Linked DNA regions of Homo sapiens: region 2 is linked to region 1. The links are contacts of gene promoters, found by promoter capture Hi-C in blood cells and fetal thymus (Javierre and others, 2016). All regions are on one chromosome and are shown on one strand. The core of a region is centred on a gene start or on the middle of the fragment in contact, and the rest is flanking DNA. Distances in the headings are between cores, read along the strand shown. Region 1 holds the start of TFB2M (transcription factor B2, mitochondrial). Region 2 holds the start of ZNF669 (zinc finger protein 669).

Region 1 (3,055 bases), core at 177-2,676:
TAACAAATTTATAATACACAAAAGGTCATATTTAGTTGTCAATTCTTTATCCGCTTGAGCTTCATCAGATGAGTATAATCTTCAGACTATTTGCTGGGTGATACATTCCTTAGGAACCTTTTCCTCGTGCATTTAAATGCCAAACTCAATTACACTCTCAGTAGAGTAAGCAGAAAGGATTGTACGTATTCTAAGACACGGAGTTGATTGGCTGCCGTTTCTTGCCTTGGTGGTAAGGATAATGGGTAAAAGCTCTAAGTTTGATCCTGAAACACGGAAAACACTCTCAAAGAACCGTGTCTTCTAACATTGCCCAATAGGTAAAAAAAAAAAGACTGCCAAAATTTCCATTACAGCATCCTATTTTTAGTCTTCAAAATTGGGTCTTTTAAATCGCATTCCACAGTACGATGTGTTTGACTAAGTTTACATAAGGAATACAGTAAGCATCCTAAAGTCTTAATCTTTTTAAGCTTAGAAAGGAATTGTAAGCTTTTACATCTTCATTTTTAATCTTAACTTTAAGTCTTTTAAACACACAAACTGAAAAAATTAAGGAAAATATTGGCCCAGAGAGAGGAATGGAAGGGAGACACCACGCGGTTCTTGACAACCAAAGTGGTAGTGATGGGGGGGACCAGGTGTGGGGGGGAAATGAAAACCATCCACGAGGGTGGGGAGAGCGGGCTGTGGGCCACACAACAGAAAGGAACGGAGACCGTGGAAGCCGCAGGCTCCTCCAGGAGCCGGGTGAGGAACGACTTCTGGCGCTAGTCCCCTAGGGAGGGAGAAATTGGCGCGACGCGCAGCAATAGGAGACCCACAGTAGCTGAGAAAGGAGAGGAAAACAGGCGACCTGAGAGGCGGAGGAGGTAAGGGGACCGGGCTACACCTCACCCGGAGGGCAGAGGCTGCGCGGCTGGAGGAGGACAGCGCAGGGGGAGGAGCGAGAGGCTTCCGAAAGGCTTTCCATCCCGGCCGCGAGCCGGCGGGTCCCCTGCATCCCGCTCCTCCTCTCCTCACCTGGGAATCGGAGGCGCAAGGAGGGCTACCGCTGGGCGCCGGGTCTGTTTCCAGCCCCACTCGGCGACATGGCGGCCGACGTGCTGTCACGGAGCTTGCTCGGGTCTCCCCTGGCTCCGGTGGAGGAGACACCTCTCGCCTTTCCGCCCCGCCTCCCTCTGCGCACCCCTCGCGGCTGGCCGGCTGGAGGCTGGCGGCCCGCGACCGCGGAGCATAGAGCACTGGCGGCTAGAGAGGAAGCGCAGAGCGCGGACAACCATAGAGTACGAGTCCGGACACCAGCCGGATGGTCGGTCGCTCTCCTCAACGGTCCACTCACAATCCTCGGGCGGCTGAGCCGAGGCGGAAGCGGAAGTGAGGGAGAAAAGCAGGAAGGCTCCGCTGTTCGCATGCGCAGGCTCTAGTGTTTACTTCCGCTTGACCTGGCCCGGACGCCAGAAAATGTTCCACGTGGGATACCCTGCGTGGGGTTCACTGTAGTAGCTGCACTAGGTGATTCTTGGAGCGGGCCTGAGAGACAAGGACATGTGGATCCCAGTGGTCGGGCTTCCTCGGCGGCTGAGGCTCTCCGCCTTGGCGGGCGCTGGTCGCTTTTGCATTTTAGGGTCTGAAGCGGCGACGCGAAAGCATTTGCCGGCGAGGAACCACTGTGGGCTCTCTGACTCCTCTCCGCAGCTGTGGCCCGAACCGGATTTCAGGAATCCGCCAAGGAAGGCGTCTAAGGCCAGCTTAGACTTTAAGCGTTACGTAACCGATCGGAGATTGGCTGAGACCCTGGCGCAAATCTATTTGGGAAAACCAAGTAGACCTCCACACCTACTGCTGGAGTGCAATCCAGGTGAGTCCAGCTGAATTGCATTTTCTTGGATGTTCATCATTTATTCAAACGTATTGACCCTCCTCGGGGTGCTATTTTAGATACTGGGGGGTCTTTTTTGTTGTTCTTTTGCTTTGAGACGGAGTCTCGCTGTGTTGCCAGGCTGGAGTGCAGTGGGGCGATCTCGGCTCCCTGCAACCTCCGCGTACCGGGTTCAGGCGATTCTCCTGCCTCAGCCTCCCGAGTAGCAAGAACTACAGGCGCGCGCCACCACGCCCAGCTAATTTTCTTATTTTTACTAGAGACGGGATTTCGCCGTGTTGGCCAGGATGGTCTCGATCTCTTGACCTCGTGATCCTCCCCCCTAGGTCTCCCAAAATGCTGGGATTAGAGGCGTGAGCCACTGCGCCCGTCCAGATACGGGTCTTTGTTTGAAGCTCCTTAGTTGGAGAGATTGCCCACTACATAAGCGTAGAGTCTGTATCGTTAATGACACCACAAAGTATTTCTGTAGCAGCTTGCACTTTACACAATATTTTGATAAAACATGCTCTTAGATCTTATCTCCCCAAAAGAGTTGCAAGCCTCTGCCAGCTGAAAAAATGATGTTATCTTATTCTTCCGTGCATTCCCTATAGACCATAGCAGGATGCTAAGAACACAAGATTTATAGGCTTTTTGAATGATAGTTTTTTAAAGCACCATTTCATATCACAGGGAGTCAGTTCTGTTTAGGCTTGACAATCTCTTTGATGGTTAAAGCATCCGTGTAGTCCGTGAGGAAGTGATAGGCTAGAGGCAATCTATTTTGCTGTGACTTTTTTCTTCTAAGAGGTAGTGAATCATGGTGATGAAGAGTGCAAGTTTTGACCTGGTGCGGTGGCTCACGCCTGTAATCCAGCACTTTCAGAGGCCGAGGCGAGTGGTTCCCTTGAGGTCAGGAGTTCCAGACCAGCCTGGCCAACATGGTGAAACTCCGTCTCTGCTTAAAATACAAAAATTAGCCGGGCGTGGTGGCGGGCGCCTGTAATCCCAGCTACTCGGGAGGCTGAGGCAGGAGAATCGCTTGAACCCAAGAGGCAGAGGTTGCAGTGAGCCGAGATTGCCCCACTGCACTCCAGCCTGGGTGACAGAGTGAGACTTCGTCTCAAAAAAAAAAAAAAAAGAGTGCAGGTTTTGCAGTCGCTGACAATGATTTCAAAGCCAAGCTGCATC
Region 2 (2,910 bases), core at 336-2,835, 540 kb before region 1:
ATCCCAGCTACTCCATGAGAGATTGGACAAAACCTGGGACCAGAGACTGATTTTCTTCTAAAATGCTTTCTCCAAAATATTTTTAAAAGAAAAGGGGGAAATTGGAAAGGAAAATGTTTTGAGCCCCCCAGATCACTAAGCTAAAGGGGAAAGTCAATCTGGGAACTGCTTAGGGCAAACCTGCCTCCCATTCTATTCAGAGTCATCCCCTGCTCACTGAGATGAATGCATATCTTATTGCCTCCTTTGGAAAGGCTAATCAGAAACTCAAAAGAATGCAACCGTTTGTCTCTCACCTACCTGTGACCTGGAAGCCCCCTCCTGGCTTCGAGTTGACCCGCTTTTGCTTCAGGTTGTCCCGGATCAAACCAGTGTTCATCTTACATATGTTGATTGATGTCTCCTGTTTCCCTAAAATGTATAAAGCTGTCAGATACAGTCAGTTTCTCTTCCAAGGTTTGGCATGTTAACTTTCTTGTTTTTTTGTTTTCGAACTCAACTTTCTTGTTCTCCATGCCTCCTTGCCCTTAGTTACTGTAAACAACCTTCCGTCAGTTCTAATCAATAACTCACATCTGTTCCCTTGGTTACCTGCTCTGCACCCATTTCTCCCTTGGAAACCGCAAGTCCCACCATTGTAACTCACATCCCCCTTCCCCCTTCCTTATTTGGGAAAATATTCACAAATAGCCAACCGGGTCAGTTTAGATCGTGCGGTCTGACCCCAGCCCATGCCAGAGGTAGGGACTGCGTTAGGAATAAAAACCCCTGCTTTCCTCTGTTCAGTGTGCTCTTGCGATCGTGATTGATGCGAGCAGCACGCTTCTGCAGAAGTAAATTGCGTTGCTGAGAAAACTTTCGCTTGAGTGCTGGTTTCACTTTGCGGCACCGAGCATTTCTCTCCAACAAAACCAAGCTGTGCTCTGACCACCTTGGGCACATGTCATCAAGGACATCCTGAGGCTGTGTCATGCATATGCATCCCCAACCTTGGCAAAATAAACGTTCTAAATACTCTTACCCCAAATGCTCAGGGAGACTGATTTGAATAATCATAAAACTCCAAGCCTGCACTCCAGCCTGGGAGACAGAGCAAGATTCTGTTTCAAAAAAATAAAATAAAATAAAAAAACTCCGGTCTCCCGCACAGAGGACACTGCGTGAATTACTCTTTCTCTATTGCTATTCCCCTGTCTTGAGAAATCGGCTCTGTCTAGGTAGCGGGCAAGGTGAACTCCCTGGGCAGTTACAGAACTGTCATTATATTGCTTCCAATTTTATATATATATATATATATAAAAGGCACAAATAGCTATAACTTGTATACAGGTTAAATGTGAATGTCCTTCTTGCATGGTCGGATCCCAGCGCAGGAAGGACGCACCGCCTACAAACCGCTAGGCCAAAAGCGGTCATTCTGACCTCATCCAGCCTCACGTGAGATCGCAATCTCCTGTCACTCAGGGCCTGAGGGGCGGGGCCTGAAGCCCCATCCAATCAGGGGCGCTGGGGTGGGGACCGTTCAATCAGGCGCGCCGCCGGAAAGGAGAGGGCGGCTTCCGGGATCTGCCTGGCGGTTGCTTTGTCTCTCCTTCGCCGGAGCCGGCTCTTCCTGTTAGTCTCCGCTGCTAGTTCTTGGCTCTGGGAGGCCCAGGTGGCTCTGCAGCAGCCTCTGCCACCCTGTGACCTGCGAGTATTGGGACATCCCTAGCTGACGCCAGGACACCCGGGAAGCCGAGGAATGGTGAGTGGACTGCGCCTGGCTTCCCGAAGTGGAGAAGAGGGCTGGTTGAAACCTGCTGTGGCGCGACTCGGGCCTCCACGCCATCGGCTCCGGAACCTGCGGACCGAGTCGCCGTGGCGTAGCCGGGGCTCAGTCCTCTTCTGTTCAGGGCCGGGCCGGGCGGGGCGGGCAGCGGAACCCCTGCATCCTGTCTGTACCTGCGGGCGCCACTTCCGCCGGCCGGAGCCCTGTCGGGAACCCCTCGCCTCCCCTATCCAGGTAGTGTGGTGACCACGGGAGGGTGATGCGGGAGAGCCCCGACTCGGTGTCTCGGTGTGCGGGGTTCCAGCATGGGAGGAGCTGTGGTTCATGGGGCTTCCAGTCCCACCTTTCTTCCCCTAAAATTAAGCCGAGGCTTTGTTAAAACGTTAAACCGTGTGTTTGAGCAAACGGCGATTCATAAACCAGGTACCGCAGTCATGGTTTGTGGTTTGGGGTCCACAGAAGGGGCGTAAATGAGAGGCTTTGATAAGGTTAATGAGGAAGCAAACCATATTCTTTTTTTTTTTTTTTTTTTTTTTTTTTGGAGACGGAATCTCGCCCTGTCGCCAGGCTGGAGTGCAATGATGCAGTCTCACTCATTGCAACCTCTGACTCCCGGGTTCAAGCGATTCTCCTGCCTCAGCCTCCCGAGTAGTTGGGATTACAGGCGCCCGCCACCACGCCCAGCTAATTTTTGTATTTTTGGTAGAGACAGGGTTTCGCCATGTTGGCTAGGTTGGTCTCGAACTCCTGACCTTAAGTGATCCGCCCGTCTCGGCCTCCTAAAGCGCTGAGATTACAGGCGTGAGCCACCGCGCTCGGCCAAAATATTTTTCTGTTTACAAACATTTTACATGAGAGGAAAGCGGAGAATAAACCATCTGACACTCTACTGTAAAAAAATCTTTGTGCCTCTCTTCATCTTTCCTAAGTGTGCATATTACCAAAATGTCTTTAGGTTGATGTCCCCCTGTGAAAACTTTACAGGGTGTTGTGTCCTCAGCCCTTGGTCTGCTTGCTCATCTCTCTGCTAATACTGTGCTGTCCTGAATATTTTTGGTTGAAAATCTTAAAAGTATGTTAGGCAAGACATAACTCTTTTTTTAGATGACTGAAAATCATTAGACATTTGTCATTTTTACTAG

The links. The method cuts DNA at HindIII sites, captures the fragments that hold promoters and counts their contacts. A CHiCAGO score of 5 or more calls a contact.
Region 2: a contact is called between the fragment with the promoter of ZNF669 here and the fragment with the promoter of TFB2M in region 1, in 4 of 17 cell types (total CD4 T cells, non-activated CD4 T cells, neutrophils and 1 more). The highest score is 6.9, in total CD4 T cells.

The regions. Positions count from the first base shown.
Region 1 is chr1:246,564,632-246,567,686 of GRCh38, reverse strand. TFB2M (transcription factor B2, mitochondrial) reads left to right here and starts at 1,426. Exons shown (of 8, transcript NM_022366.3): 1 at 1,426-1,861. The coding sequence starts at 1,549. It overlaps CNST (consortin, connexin sorting protein), which reads right to left and starts at 1,231. Exons shown (of 11, transcript NM_152609.3): 1 at 1,024-1,231. RefSeq lists enhancers at 627-1,126, 1,167-1,226, 1,457-1,736. The HindIII fragment of the contact is 6,532 bases long and covers 495-3,055 here.
Region 2 is chr1:247,103,031-247,105,940 of GRCh38, reverse strand. ZNF669 (zinc finger protein 669) reads left to right here and starts at 1,585. Exons shown (of 4, transcript NM_001142572.2): 1 at 1,585-1,744. The coding sequence starts at 1,742. FLJ39095 (a long non-coding RNA gene) reads right to left here and starts at 1,430. Exons shown (of 3, transcript NR_147502.1): 1 at 301-1,430. RefSeq lists an enhancer at 1,340-1,634. The HindIII fragment of the contact is 5,762 bases long and covers 1-2,910 here.